Regions from separate parts of the Homo sapiens genome. Here region 1 is linked to region 2. Evidence: promoter capture Hi-C in 16 types of primary human blood cells and fetal thymus (Javierre and others, 2016). All regions are on one chromosome and are shown on one strand. Each heading gives the region's core, a stretch centred on a gene start or on the middle of the fragment in contact. The rest is flanking DNA. Distances are from core to core; before and after follow the strand shown. Region 1 holds the start of AKNA (AT-hook transcription factor). Region 2 holds the start of ATP6V1G1 (ATPase H+ transporting V1 subunit G1).

Evidence for each region. The method cuts DNA at HindIII sites, captures the fragments that hold promoters and counts their contacts. A CHiCAGO score of 5 or more calls a contact.
Region 1: a contact is called between a fragment that was not itself captured here and the fragment with the promoter of ATP6V1G1 in region 2, in 6 of 17 cell types (fetal thymus, naive CD4 T cells, total B cells and 3 more). The highest score is 11.6, in fetal thymus.

Annotation. Positions count from the first base shown.
Region 1 is chr9:114,382,568-114,389,902 of GRCh38, reverse strand. AKNA (AT-hook transcription factor) reads left to right here and starts at 1,921. Exons shown (of 22, transcript NM_001317950.2): 1 at 1,921-2,043. It overlaps LOC124902253 (a long non-coding RNA gene), which reads right to left and starts at 1,853. Exons shown (of 3, transcript XR_007061742.1): 1 at 1,650-1,853; 2 at 1,314-1,458. RefSeq lists enhancers at 1,629-1,918, 1,959-2,088, 1,559-2,294, 4,279-4,348, 6,381-7,196 and 4 more. The HindIII fragment of the contact is 708 bases long and covers 5,159-5,866 here.
Region 2 is chr9:114,582,510-114,589,846 of GRCh38, reverse strand. ATP6V1G1 (ATPase H+ transporting V1 subunit G1) reads right to left here and starts at 2,078. Exons shown (of 3, transcript NM_004888.4): 1 at 1,927-2,078. The coding sequence starts at 2,008. RefSeq lists enhancers at 1,643-2,152, 2,263-2,342, 1,981-2,799, 2,800-3,619, 6,131-6,635. The HindIII fragment of the contact is 7,256 bases long and covers 1,791-7,337 here.

The DNA.
Region 1 (7,335 bases), core at 4,263-6,762, 200 kb after region 2:
AAGGCAGGAAAGGGGATAGAGGGGTGGGCGATTACCAGGATGAGGGCTCCTGGTTCTAGCCCTGGCTACGCCAGATATTCACAAGCTGACCTTGGGAACGTCCACTCATTCATTCATTCATTCATTCACAGAACACATTCATCAGCCATAAACAGTGTGCCAGGCTTCAGGAAAGATATTAAGATCTAGCCTTTAGAGGAGACCAGAGACTTATACCTAAGTAGCAGCAATAGTTGTAGTAGCAATAATAAAATAGCTCAATACATGACTGTGTTCTGGCTCCCCCGCTCTACCCTTGGTAGGCATCATGTCATTGAATCTTTATAGCAGCCCCTGTGGGGTGGCTACTCTTCTTATCCCTGTTTTACAGATGAAGAAACTGAGGCTTAGAGACGTGAAGCCTCAAAGGTCAGGGCCAGCAGGAGATGGGGCTGGGATTTGAACCCAGGTCCACAGTGACTCTGAGATTTTTTTCTCTCCTACATGGGTGGTTCCCAAATCTGGCTGCTTATCAGAATTACCTGGAGGGCTTTTTGGACAATACAGAGGCCTGTTTTTTTTCCTCTTTCTTTTTGTTTCCTGACTCAGAGTCTCTGGGTCCTGGGTGGGGCCAGTGTTGGGAGCCTCTTGTGCTCCTGTGCCCGCTTTTCTGTGAAGCTCCTGCTTCTCCCGCTTGACTCGCTCTGCCCCGGGTACACAGGCCTTGCTGTTCTCAGGGAAAGCCCGCTGGCTCCCCCACCTTGGCCTTTCCACTTGCCCTCCCAGAACACTCTGCCCCAAACCTTCTTGTGGCTTGCTTTTGACCCCTCTTCCTTCCAGTGCCTTATTTGAATGTCACCTCCTCATAGAGACCTTCCTGACCGTCCTATAACCCTTCTCCTCCAACCCATTACTCTTGGCCCCATGTGTTCTCTACCAGGGCCAGTCACCTGGGACACTTAAAATGTCTGATGCCCAGAGACTGACTCTGTTGGCCTGGGGTGAGCCCCAGGCTTCAGTGCCACCTGGCCTGGGACACGGATCGTCACCCAGTCTCATTGTTCACAGCTCTCTCCTTGAAATTATACATGTGCTTGCTTATTGTCCATGTCTCTGCTAGAGTGGAGAGCAGGGGACTGGCCTGTCTTCGGCCCTGCCATATTCCCAGGTGATTTAAAAGCACCCGCCACACAGTAGGAGCTCAGTGAGTACCTACGAATGAAGGAATGGGATGGTGGGGCTTGAGGAAAGATAGCTCGACTGACCATCAGGATCGATCTGTTCCCAACATCTGGTGAACCCTTGGAGGGTTCTTACAACAAGGGAAAGTTTACCTGATCCGCCAGGTTCACACCTCCATGCTGCCCCGAACATCCCACTCTGGCTGCAGGACCACCTCGGGGTGAGGACGGTGGGTTGAGATGGCAGGAATCACCACGGTCTCCCTGAGATTCAGGTTGCACATTGGCAGAGTCAGAGCTGGAAGGGCAGGAGTGGTGTTGAGTCTGAGCTCTCACCGTGCACATGGGCCCTGAGGCCTAGTGAGGGAAGGAGCCTCGGCTAAGGTCAGGCCGTGGTTGAAGAGGGCCTAGAGGGTAGGAGCTACAGCATGCTGTGTGACCTTGGCCAAGCCTCTGACCTTCTCTGTGCTTTAGTCTCCCCATCTGTACCTGCAGGGCCTGGGCTGAGATGATCCCAAGCCCAGGACGTCAGGAGTTTGTTCCCTGAGTCCTTTCCTGGGCAGCGCTGACTGCGGAGGGCTTGCAAGGGGTTAAGCTCCTCCAGCTCTTGCTCTGCACGCAGACAAACCCCCTCCTTCTGACAAACACTTGTAGGAAATCAGGCTGGGCGCTTCCTGCCGAGGCGAGGCGGCCTCAACCACGGCAGGGGCGGGGAGAGGTGGGGAGCGATGCTGGTCTGTGAGCAGCAGCTTGGGCTGGCAGAACGGCCTGGAGGTGGGCCAGGGCGCAATGGAGACAGGGGGCTCCCTGGGTTTGGAACAAAGAATTCACAGGCAGGTCCCCTGAAACTGGGTCGGCAGGACGGTGGTGGAGCCCGAGAGAGGTAAGGGATTGGAACGGAGGAGGGCCCGGGAGGCCGCTTTCCTTCTGGACGGGCCAGTCACAGACTCTCCGGGACAGTCCAGGCAGCCGGACCAGCCCAGCCAGGAAGTTGCAGCTGCTGGAGCTGCACCGCTTTTCTCTTGGCTTAGGGGATCCCGGCCTCCAGGGCAAGGGTGGATTTAAGGAGGATTTCGTCAAGCCTCAGGATGCTAGATTCCAGTCCTAGCTCTGATTCTGATCTCTTGTGAACTTGGGTAGGCGGGTCCATCTCTGTGCCTGGGGTGTCGTCGTCTGCACCTGGAGAGTTAGTGTCCTTGGTTGCTAAGGGGTCTCAGAGACGATGCAGGCATGGGCAGCAGGCCAGGAGGCAGCGACGGCGCCGGGGGGTGGTCCCTATTGAAGGAGTGGCCCCTTATGCCAGCTGCGTAAGAGCAAGGAGAGGAGCCAAGGACAGTCCGAGGACCAGCAGACCCAGCTCAGCTCTTGAGGATGGCAAGACCAGAGCTGGCAACAGCCAGGGCACCGTTTCTCTTTCTCCTCGGCCTCTGCTGCTGGAGCGGGCTGGGGGCAGGGAGGACACAGAGAGGGAGTGGCTGGTGCTTCCTTGTGGGACTAGAGTCCACACAGCTGGTGGGAACCCCTTGAGAACAGCAAGTCTGTGCCCTGCCAGCAGGTGGGTGGGGGTATGGTTGAGCCTTTTTGGAAGGTCTGGTTACTGATTTGGGGGGTGGTCTTCCTTCCCCATCTCCCTGACACATCTGACAGCCTTGGTTTCAGAGTTGCGGTACCCCAGCTTTGAATCCTCTGTCTGCGCTTCCTGGCTGTGAGGTCTTGTGAGAGCAGGCCATGTCTCTGTGCCTCAGTGTCTTCATCTGGGAGGTGTCAGGGTGTGGGTGGGGGTAGAAGCAGGGTGGCACCCTGGACAGCTCTGGCTGGATGGGAAGGGGCTGCAGAGGGCACGGGGAGGCTGTGCGGGCTGCGTAGCTGTGCTGGCAAAGGAGAGCCTGGGCGTCTGGGCAGTTCTGAGGGATTGAGCCATAAAGGGAAGGGTCCCTGGCTGTGGAATGACTGAGCGGGCGGAGAAGCCCTGTGTGGGTGGTGGGGAAGAAGAGTCCATCCCACCCAGGAACTGAAGATAGACACCTCAGGGGTCTGTTAGACCCTTGAGAGAGCAGGGGCAGTGGCGGCTTGGGTGTAAGAAGGAGATGTGCAGAAGGAGGGTGCAGTGGCTGCTACTTCCTTGTGGGGCCAGTTTCTCCAGGGATGGCGGGGACCCTGAACTCCATAGCCCTCCCCAGCTCACACTGCTGGAGTCTTCACCAAACCCCACTCACTGCCTTTTAGGAGCAGCCCTGCTGCCCTAACGAGGGCTGGCTGGAACAACTCTGCCTTTATCTGGCATGCAGGGACACCTGCCCATAGCTCTCCTTCAAGGTCAGGCCATACTTTCAGACCTACGTGCCTTTGCCTCCGTGCTGTTCCCGCTGCCTGGAATGCCCTCCCCAGTCTTCTCCCCCAAATCCTCATTGTTTCTCAAGCCCACCTTAAAGCTTCCTTTGGTAACACTTCTGTATTGTACTACCCCCCACCGTTTAAAATCTTGGAACACTTTTACTCTTTTCTATATTCTTTGCATCTTACGTAGCGCCTGGTATATAGTAGGAAGTCATAGGGCTTTTTTAAAAAGTTAATTTGCGCCCACTGGGTGCTCAGTATGTATCTTTGTACTTTGAAATGTGACCTCAGGGAGGAGGAGAGAGGTTAACAGTTCTGAGGCTGTTGCCCTTAGAAGCTGAGTCAATCAGGGACTTCAAAGCTCTTTGAGTCCCATACCCTGCCTCCCAACCCACCCTAGCAGGGTGATATCCCCTTGCGATATCAAGAGCAGGTGGTACTTTCTCTATTTTACAGTGAGGAAAATGCAAGCCCAGCTATACACAGTGAGTAACAGCAGCCAGGACTAGCACCTGTCTCCTGATGCCCAGCCTGCTTCTCTATCACAGCATCGTCCCAGCCTGAGGTTGGCAGGTAGTTGGCACTAACGTGTGTTTGTTGACTGACTAGCTGACTGGCCAGTTCTGGGGCTTTGTGGTGAGGAGGGCCATGGCTCGCATGGAAGGCAGAGGCCTGGCTCAGGAAAGGCTCACTGGTTTAGGCGCCTGGGGGCAAGTGCGAAACTCTAGTCAGTCACTGCAGCTGCCTCTGACGTGCACCTTCCCCTGGTTACAGTGAGATTTCTGCCACGACTGAGTCATCCCAGAAGACAGGATGTTCCTCTTTGTGCACCCAGAGGGCTCTGTGATTGGGCAGGCTGCTCTGTGGCAGAGCTAGAAAAAAAGCCCTTTAAAAAGTCAAAAAACCGCACACCTCCCCCGGCCCCTTCCTCAGCAGAGGCTTCAGAATCAGAAAAGCAACAGCTAAATTGTAGCCTCTTCTCCACCTGCCATAACAGCAGGAGCCAGGAGGCCTAGTGAACTTCAAAGGGCAGGCCCTGCCTGAGGCCCTGGTTTAAAATGCAGATTCCTGGGCCCTATCCCAGGGCCACTGAGTCAGGCTCTCTGCAGGTTGTTTCAGGAAACTGCACGCTTAGAGGATTCTTAAGCACACTGAAGCTTAAGATCCCTGGCAGGGATTTCCAAGAAGGGTACAGGCCCTGCAGAAGGTATGAGAAGCAAGGATTAGAGCTTCTATTTAAAATATAGTTGACCAGCTGGGTGGGTGGCTCATGCTTGTAATCCCAGCACATAGGGAGGCCGAGGCAGGAGGATCATTTGAAACAAGGAGTTCAAAACCAGCCTGGGCAACGTGGCAAAACCCCATCTCGACAAAAAAAAATTTTTAAAATTAGCCAGGCATGGTGGCGCATACCTGTGGTCTTAGCTACTCAGGAGGCCGAGGTGGGAGGATCGCTTGAGCCCAGGTGGTCAAGGCTACAGTGAGCTCTGATTGCCATTGTACTCCAGCCTGGGTAACAGTGAGACCCTGTCTCAATAAAATAAAATACAGTTGATCCTTGAATAATACAGGGGTTAGGAGTGCCTCATGCAGTCAAAAATCTGCTTATAACTTTTAACTCCCCCAAAACTTTATCAATAGCCTGCTATTGACTGGAAGCTTTGCTGATAACATAAACAGTTGGTTAATGCATATTTTCTGTCTTATATGTATTATGTACTGTTTTCTTACAATAAAGTAAGCCAGAGAAAAGAAAATGTTATTAAGGAAATCATAAGGAAGAGAAAATCTACTTACTTTCATTAAGTGGAAGTGGATCATCATAAAGGCCTACATCCTTGTCATCTTCACATTGAGGAGGAGGAGTTAAGGGGGAGATTGATCTACTGTCTTAGGGGTGGCAGAGGCAGAAGAAAATTCACATATAGGTAGACCTGTGTGGTTCAAACTGTCATTAAGGGTCACCTGTATATATTTTCTTTTTCCTTTTTATTTTTAGTAGAGACAGGCTTTTGCCACGTTGCCCAAGCTGGTCTCAAACTCCTGAGCTCAAGTGATCTGCCCACCTCGGCCTCCCAAAGTGCTGGGATTGCAGGTGTGAGCCGCTGTACCTGGCCCATTTTCGATTGCATCTTTTTAGAAGATCACTTTTGAAAATACTCTTTCCAATACATGTAATATATTAGCGTGATGTGTTCGAGCAAATATATTTTTACTGATGGATTGTGTGATTAAAAAAATATTGGGGTACCACTAGGCCAGAATTGACAGTTGCAAATCTTGCTGTGGCAGGAAGTAGCTGGGTGATCTTAGCCAAATTCTACCCTCATGTTTGTAGGAGGGCAGATTGAGAATTTAAAAGTAAAGCTTCAACCCAGGCTGGCGCCGAGTGGGCTCTTCACATGTGGTAGGGACTGTGGGGCTGGAGGACAATACACAGGGTGATCTGGAGGAAATTGTAGGGCTCTGCATTTGGGGGTAGAGAGGAAGACTGGGCGGGGACAGAGGATAGAAGCCCCGAACACCCATCCACAGAGCAGGAGTCGCAGCCAAGGAGGGAAGAATGGTATTCCCTGCACCTCCCTCCTCCAGCCCTTGAGAAGTCAGCCTTTCCCGGGCTGCACTGTTCCCTGGGGAACTTTGTGTCCAAAAATAGTTGCCTGCTGACTTTTCTCAGCCACACAAATCAAGCAGGATCCAAGTGTTCATGAGGATAAAGGGACAAACACAGACCTTCTGTCCTGGGAGGCCTGGAGTCATACTGCCTTCAACACAGCATGCAGGGGAGAAAGCCCAGACTGTGGGCCAGGAGGCTGACTTTCACCCCTGCCTTGTCCTGACCCCTGTGTGGCTTTAGGCAAGGCCTCTCCCCTCTCTGGATCCCAGTTTCCCCATCTGTGGAAGAAGGCCTTTGTGTGAGCTGCTCTGGGGGCCGCTGCACTGATGGGCTGCAGTTCTCTGAACCCTCCATGGCAGGGAGCTCCCTGGGGGACCGTGCCCACTCTGGGTCAGCTTTGCACTTCCTGGGCCTGGCTCAGTGCTGGCATAGAGGAAGCGCTTAGGGAAATAGCAGGAGCGTCAGAAGGAAGAGGCAAAAGGAGATGAGAGGGAGAAGGAAAGAGGGAAAGAAGGAGAGGGTTGAGGGAAGGCAGCGGAGGAGCCCTTCTCTGGCTACCCTGTTCCTGCAGCAGCCGCCTGACGGGTCCCCCGTGTGGCCAGCCTCCCTGGTTCATTCTCCCAGAGCAGCCCAAGGGGAACTTTTAAACCACACCTCTGATGGGCTTTCCCTGTGTTCAATACCCCAGCCATCGGCGGCGAAACCACTCCCAGGTCCAGGAAAGCCCCTGGTAGGCTTGCTCCCCGCCCCCAGCTCGCCTCACTCCTCACTCGGAAGGCGTTTTCTTTAAATTGAGGTGAAATTCACATAACATAAAACTAACCATTTTTAGGTAAACAGTTCAGTGACATTTAGTATATTCACAGTGTTGTGTAACTGCCACCTCCATCTAGTTGCAAAACATTTTCATCACTTCAGAAGGAAATCCCATACCCAGCAAGCATTTAGTGCCCGCTCTCCTCTCCCCCAGCCCCTGGCAAATACCAGCCTGCTTTCACTCTCCAAGGAGTTACCTTGCCTGGATATTTCCTATCCATAGAATCACACTATATGTGACCTTTGTCGCATCTTTCACTTAGCATAATGTTTTTGAGGTTCATCTATACTGTAGCATGTGTTGGGACTTCATGCCTTTTCATTTGAGCACCTGTTTTTCAATTATGTTGGGTACAGGAATGCTACCTTTTTTTTTTTTTTTTTCCTTTTGAGACAGGGTCTCAC
Region 2 (7,337 bases), core at 829-3,328:
GATAAAGGTATAAAACATAAATCCTACCTGGCTAGGGCACTCAGAATTATTCTTACCTATTCCAAGCATTTTTTCCTGCACTTCCCCAATCTATTCTCCTATCCCTCCCGACAGATACAACTTCTGTTACTGATGAGCCATCAGAACACAAACTGTGAGAAGTCATTCTGGAAATACACTATCAAGGGCATGACTGGAAATATTCTGGGAAGAACAAAGAACTTTCCAGTCACCGGAGCAAGAACAAAAGGCTTCTTCTCATTCCCAACACCCTCAAAGAAAGCTTTCCAAGTACCACACAACCCCTAACTGCACAAGTAGAGGAGACATGCTTGAAATCTAGTTGGATGTCAGATAGAATAACTCCTATACTAGGAGAAACACCAAGGAATTACTAAGATCAGTATCTTCGCCTTGCATGGAAAAAGAGGCTTCTGAGTCCCAACTATGTTGCTTCCCAGGGTATGGATAAATCATTTCTCTCTGAGCCTCATTTTTACTATCTGTAAAATAGGGATAGAAGCATCTTTCTCACCAGACGGGAAACTGGATACATAAAGTTAAATGAGACATAGTTTCTGTTCTCCAGAAGCTTAGTCTAGTGACTGAGCCATATAAACAAACAGGTTATTGCACGGCAGTGGCAGAAATCAGCACTTGGGAGGGACTCCAAGCCTAGTCCGGGGGACAAGCATGAGTCAGGAAAGGCTTCCCGGGAAGAAGTGTTTCCTAAATTGAGGTCTGATGGAAGACTAAGGGTCAGAGAACAAAGGGGAGGAGAATTGGAAAAGGCTTCTCACGTCAGAAGAAACAGCGTGTGCAAAAACCTGCAGGTGAAAGACATCATGCTGCTTCTGAGGGACCACAACGATTCAGTATAGCTGGAGGAAAGCACCAGGCCTGACCCACAAGAGCCTCCCCAACTTCATTAAGGAATTTGAGCTTTCTTCTGCAGGAACTAAACGTCTGACTACAAAGGCGGTAGGGAAATCATATCTGCACTTATTTATTTATTTTGTTCCTTACCAGCAGGAAGTCACATATTTGCATTTTAGAAGGATGACTGATTGCAGAGAGGAGAATGGATTGACTGGAGGGGACCAGAACGGGTTCTTCCACTCCCCAGTCTAGATTAAACTCACCTGTTAAATTCTTTAGCAACCTTACATTTCTCCACTCCAGCCCTCATCTCTCCTGCAATTAATTAACTGACCCAATACCTGCTTCCTTCACTGCGACACTGAATGCCACGTTAGGGGAGACAACTGATGCACTGGGCACTGCGCTTGCCACATATTAGACAGAAACACACACACACACACACACACACACACACTGCGCTTGCCACATGTTAGAAACACACACACACTGCGCTTGCCACATATCAGAAACACACACACGCACACACGCCAACGATTTAGACAACTACAGTACCTTTAGAGAAACTGGTGTCCTGGACTAAGACGCTGGTAGTAGACATGGGGGAAAAAGTGAAAGATACGCAAGCCTTGGCGACTGACTAAATGAGGGAGGGAGAAGAGGCAAGCAGGACTCCAGGTTTCTAGACCAAGCAACTGTGTGGATGCTGGCTCCCTTCACCGAGACTGACCACCCCAGAGCGGTTAAGTGGGAGAGAAGAAGAACAAAGAGCTCCGTTTGGAGAGCCCATTTCACATGCCTCCAGGCCCCAAGGACGGTAACCCATTATTGTTTCCACGCCCAATTTACCATCTCACATCGTGGCTTCCAGGCGATCCGCAAGCCTTCCAGAGCCTCAGCTCCTCAAAGCTTCGAAACACACAACCTTCCGCGACTATACGCACGCCCGCACCCCGCAGTTTTTCGGGCCTAATCTACCCACCACCTGAGGCCCAGCGGTCTTTCTTCGACTCGCGCCACGCCGGGCAGCCCCACCCTGAAACTCACTTTTGCGGGCCTCGGACACCTTCTCGGCTGCCCGCTTCTCGGCCTGCAGCAGCTGCTGAATCCCCTGAGACTGACTAGCCATGGCGGCAGCGATTCTGAGAGCAAGGCAAGCGGCCTAAGGCACCTCGAAGGCCCCTTGGGTCAGCTGACACAGCCGCCCACAATCTGCGCTTGCTCCTTGCGCCTGCGCTTCGCCCCCGTTGTCACGTGACCGCACAGCGTAGCATCAGCTGACCGCTCTTGAACTTCTGTGATTCGGCAGAAATGGGGCGGGGCGGGGCTGAGGAGAAAGGAGCGGAGCTCCTCGACTGCGCCTGTGCAGTCTACTGCGCAGTACTGCCCTCTACTCCTCTGTCCGCTCCCTGGCCTCTTTTAATGGCTACCCTGTCGCTGGTTCACTCTGTAGCCGCCCTGCCACGTATAGTGTCTGTTTGCAGTATGCTCAACGTCAAGAGAGGAGGGGCCAAGTCAAATCACTTTCCTCCTACTCTCCACACTGCTCTACTCACTCCCTTTCTGGGACTTTCTTTGGCACTCAAAATTTTATCGGGGTAGTTCAGGAAGATTCTTGCCAGTTCCGGGGATAGAGTCTTGGGTTGCCAGTTAGGAGACTCGGGATCAAGTCTGCCGCTAACCTGTGTGATTTTGGACAGGTCGCTATCCTTTTCTGAACCCGAGTTCAGGAATGGACTGGACTGTTTCCCATAAATATTTGATGAAAGCCTGCTGTGATCCTAGTCCACTGTTGATATTGAGGACATAGCAGAGAGCAGGGCAAACAAGGTCCCGGCGGAGCTCACAGTTTATGGACACAGACAGATTAATTAAAATAAATAGACAATTACAAACTGTGATAAAGTCATGAAGGAAAAATGCAGGGTGCCGTAAGAAGGAACCTTTAGTAAGGGGAGAGGAATATGGAGGTGTCTCTGAATGCTGTACCAAGGAAGTGGTGTTTAAGATCTGAAGGCCAGGCGCAGTGGCTCACGAGCCTGTAATCCCAGCACTTTGAGAGGCCGAGGCGGGTGGATCACTTCAGGTGAGGAGTTCGAGACCAGCCTGGCCGACGTGGTGAAACCCCGTCTTTACTAAAAATACAAAAATTAGCCGGGCGTGGTGGCGCGCGCCTGTAATCGCAGCTACTCAGTAGGCTGAGGCACGAGAATCGCTTGAACCCGGGAGGCGGAGGCTGCAGTGAGCCGAGATCGTGACGCTGCACTGCAGCCAGGGCGACAGAGCAAGACTGTCTCAAAAAAATTAAAATTAAAAAATTAAAATAGGCCAATCGCGGTGGCTCACGCCTATAATCCCAGCACTTTGGGAGGCTGAGGCCGGCGGATCACGAGATCAGGAATTTGAGACCAGCCTGACCAATGTGGTGAAACCTGGTCTCTACTAAAAATACAAAAATCCGGGCATGGTGGCGCGCGCCTGTAATCCCAGCTACTCAGGAGGCTGAGGTAGGAGAATCGCCTGAACCTGGGAGCTGAGGTTGCAGTGAGCCGAGATCGTGTCACTACACTCCAGCCTGGGTGACAGAGCAGACTCCATCTCAAAAATAAATAAGTAAATAAATAATAAAAATTCTCAAAAAATAAAATAAGATCTGAAGAATAAGAAGTTACCCAGGAAAGGATAGTGGGGGATGGAGGCGGTGGGAGATGATTAGGGGAAAAGGACCAGCGTGTGCGGAGTTGGGGAGGGGGTCAACTTGGCACGGAGACATCTCCCCATCCACCGTGAATAGGGAAATAGGAAGCCATGGTTTGAGTTTACAGTATGACGGGCCCTTGTCATCGCTTCACTCACTCCTCACATTAACTTTGATACTGTTACTAATTCCATTTTATATTGACCAAACTGAAGCTCAGAGAGTCGCAAAGTCTCTGAGCCAAAAGTCATGCCCCTATTAACACACAGACAGGGTATTTGAATCCAGTCAGGGCTGCAGAGTAAAACCTCTGAGCTACTGCTTTTCTGCCGGAATCCTCTGGGCTGAGGAAAGGACCAGGTGACCTCTTAGAGTCCACTGAGTGCTGAGAACATAAAATAATGCCAGAATTTTTCTTGATACAAAGATTCTTCACTCCAGGAGCTGGATTCATGGCTCAGGACATTTTCATTTGATTGACGTGGTGGGGTTGGAAAGAACAGAATTTCTATCCTTTTCTGATGTGAGAAACAGGACTGGAAAGAGTTTTGAAGATAAAACAGAATAGAGCACATGGGCCCACATGTCTCCTGCCTGAGTTACTATATTCCTTAAAGGATAAATTACACTAATCCTTGCCTCTTTTACACATAAGATAACATCTGACAGAGTTAGTGATTATACTTCTGCAAATGTACCTTATTTCTTTTTCTTTTTTCTTTTTTTTTTTTTCTTTAGATATTCTGTAGCCCAGGCTGGAGTGCAGTGGCGCGATTTCGGCTCACTGCAACCTCCGCCTCCCGGGTTCAAGCGATTCTCCTGCCTCAGCCTCTCGAGTACCTGGGATTACAGGTGCCTACCACTGTGCCTGGCTAATTTTTTTTGTAGTTTTAGTAGAGATGGGGTTTCCCCATCTTGGCCAAGCTGGTCTTAAACTCCTGACCTCGTGATCCACCAGCTTCGGCCTTCCAAAGTGCTGGGATTACAGGTGTGAGCCACCCCGACCAGCCAGTTAAAGTACATTTTAATAAAGAAATAAAGGCTGGGCGTGGTGGCTCACACCTGTAATCCTAGCACTTTGGGAGGCTGAGGCGGGTGGATCACAAGGTAAGGAGTTCCAGACCAGCCTGGCCAACATGGTGAAACCCCATCTCTACTAGCAATACAAAAATTAGCTGGGCATGGTGGCACATGCCTGTAGACCCAGCTACTCGGGAGGCTGAAGCAGAAGGATCCCTTGATGCCAGGAATTAGAGGCTGTAGTGCACTATGATTGCCCCTGTAAATGGCCACTGCACTCCAGCATGGGCAATGCAGGGAGGCCCCATCTGTATAAACAAAAGGAGAACAAAAGAAAGAAACCACAGTTCACTCAGTCAATCAATGGAAGACAGCAATACACACTTCTAGAGGTGGCATGAAGATTAAAAGAGATGATGGTACCCCAAAACTGGAAACAACCCAAATGTCCATCTACTGATGAGTAGATAAAATGTAGCATATTCATACAATAGAATAGTATTTGGTTATAAAAAGGAAATAAAGCTACAACGTGGATGAAACTTGGTAATATGCTAAATGAAAAAAGCCAGGCACAAAAGACTACATATTATACAGTTCCGTTTATAGGAACAATCCAGAATAGGCAAATAGACACAGAAAATAGATTAGTGGTTAACCAGGGGCTGAGGGGAGAGGAATGGGGGAGTGACTGCTAATTGGCATGGGTTTTCTTTTTCGGGTGATGGAAACATTCTGGAATTAGTGGTGACAGTTTCATACCCTTGTGAATATACAGTAAACAAAAACAAAAACAAACCCGGCCGGGCACGGTGGCTCACACCTGTAATCCCAGCACCTTGGGAGTCTGAGTCGGGTGGATCACCTGAGGTCGGGAGTTTGAGATCAGCCTGACCAACATGGAGAAACCCCATCTCTACTAAAAATACAAAATTAGGTGGGCATGGTGGTGCATACCTGTAATCCCAGCTACTTGGGAGGCTGAGGCAAGAGAATGGCTTTAACCTGGGAGGCGGAGGTTGCAGTGAGCCGAGATCACACCATTGCACTCCAGCCTGGGCAACAAGAGCGAAACTCCTTCTCCAAAGAAAAAAAAAAAAAAAGCAACACTGAATTGCATACTTTAAAAGTACAGTATGTGAATTATACCTCTATAAAGGTGTTATTAGAGAGAGATGATGACAGATGTAAAGCCCTTGCAATTTCTAGTCTGCAGTAAGAGCCAGGAAATGGAAGCTGTTATTTTTATCTGGCTAGGGGGTGATTGTTTGAATTACAAATGTGGTGCTCCACTTAACAAAAGCCTTCACATTAGGGTTCCTCTAACAGTCCAGTCCCTCAAACCATCTAAATATCTACAAATTCCAGAATTCTTTTTGCTTGTAGCATTTCAAAAGTTTATTGTGTAAAGAGAAAAAAATCAGACAATCCCGCCTCTGAAATTTTTAGACTGGTTTGGATTTTCCGATGATCTGAGTGGGTGTTTGTTGTCAGAACTCATGTACCCTGGGGAGGTGTCCCACAATAACTAGGAAATAAAGGTGAAGCCATTGCCCTCTGAGAGAAAGTTTTGAGCCAGTAGGGTAGATTCAGACAGTCGTCTGAAGGAAACAGAGTGGATCTCAGGCCTTGCTGCCCTGACCAAGGAATGTATTAGCATATCAAAGAAAGGAGTGTTTCCATTCTGAGAAGTAGTTATTCAAACACAGGCTGGAAACAAGGAGAAGCAGCAAGGGTGTTCTTCACACACCCCAGCTCAGCTAGAACTAAGGTAGGTGGAGCCTCTCACTACCTTGGGTAAGAAAGCCAGGTGGCCCGAGTTCAAATCCCTAGCCCTGTAATTTAGCAAATGGAACCACTCTGTGGGTTCAACTCCTCGTATGTTAAAAATGAAGTTAGCCGGCCAAGGTGGGTGGATAGCTTGAGCCCAGAAGTTTAAGACCAGCCTGGGCAACATAGTGAGACCTCTTCTCTACAAAAAATTCAAAAAATTAGCCAGGCATGGTGGCACATGCCTGTGGTCCCAGGTACTCCAGAGGCTGAGGCAGAAGGATTGCTTGAGCCTAGGAGTTGAGGGCTGCAGTGAGCTGTGATCACGCCATTGTACTCTAGCCTGGGTGACAAAGTGAGACCCTGTCTCAAAAAAAAAAAAAATGAAGCTAATAATAGTATAATAATGTTATTGTGAGGATTAAATCAGTTAACACATGTAACTAGCTTACAATGTACTCACTGCTCACAAGAATTTAGATATCTGGACCCCATGTTGACACAAGAATAATACAGGGCAGTGGCAGGAGAATAGAAGATTCTAGGCAGGCTGGGGACGGTGGTTCATGCCTGTAATCCCAGCACTTTGGGAGGCCGAGGAGGGTGGATAAACTGAGGTCAGGTGTTCGAGGCCAGCCTGGCCAACATAGCGAAACCTCGTCTCTACTAAAAATACAAAAATTAGCTGGGCATGGTGGCATGTGCCCGTAATCCCAGCTACTAGTGGGGCGAGGCAAGAGAATCACTTGAATCTGGGAGACGGAGGTTGCAGTGAGCCGAGATCATGCCAGTGCACTCTAGCCTGGGCAAAAGAGTAAGACTCAGTCTCAAAAAAAAAAAAAAGGAAAATTCTAGGCAGCAGATTCATATGACTAATAAAAGGCAACTTTTGAAATGGATGCATAAGCTAGGGGTTGATAAAACCCTGAAAAATCAGAGTATAGGCCAAGCTGGCTAAGTTCGACTGGAC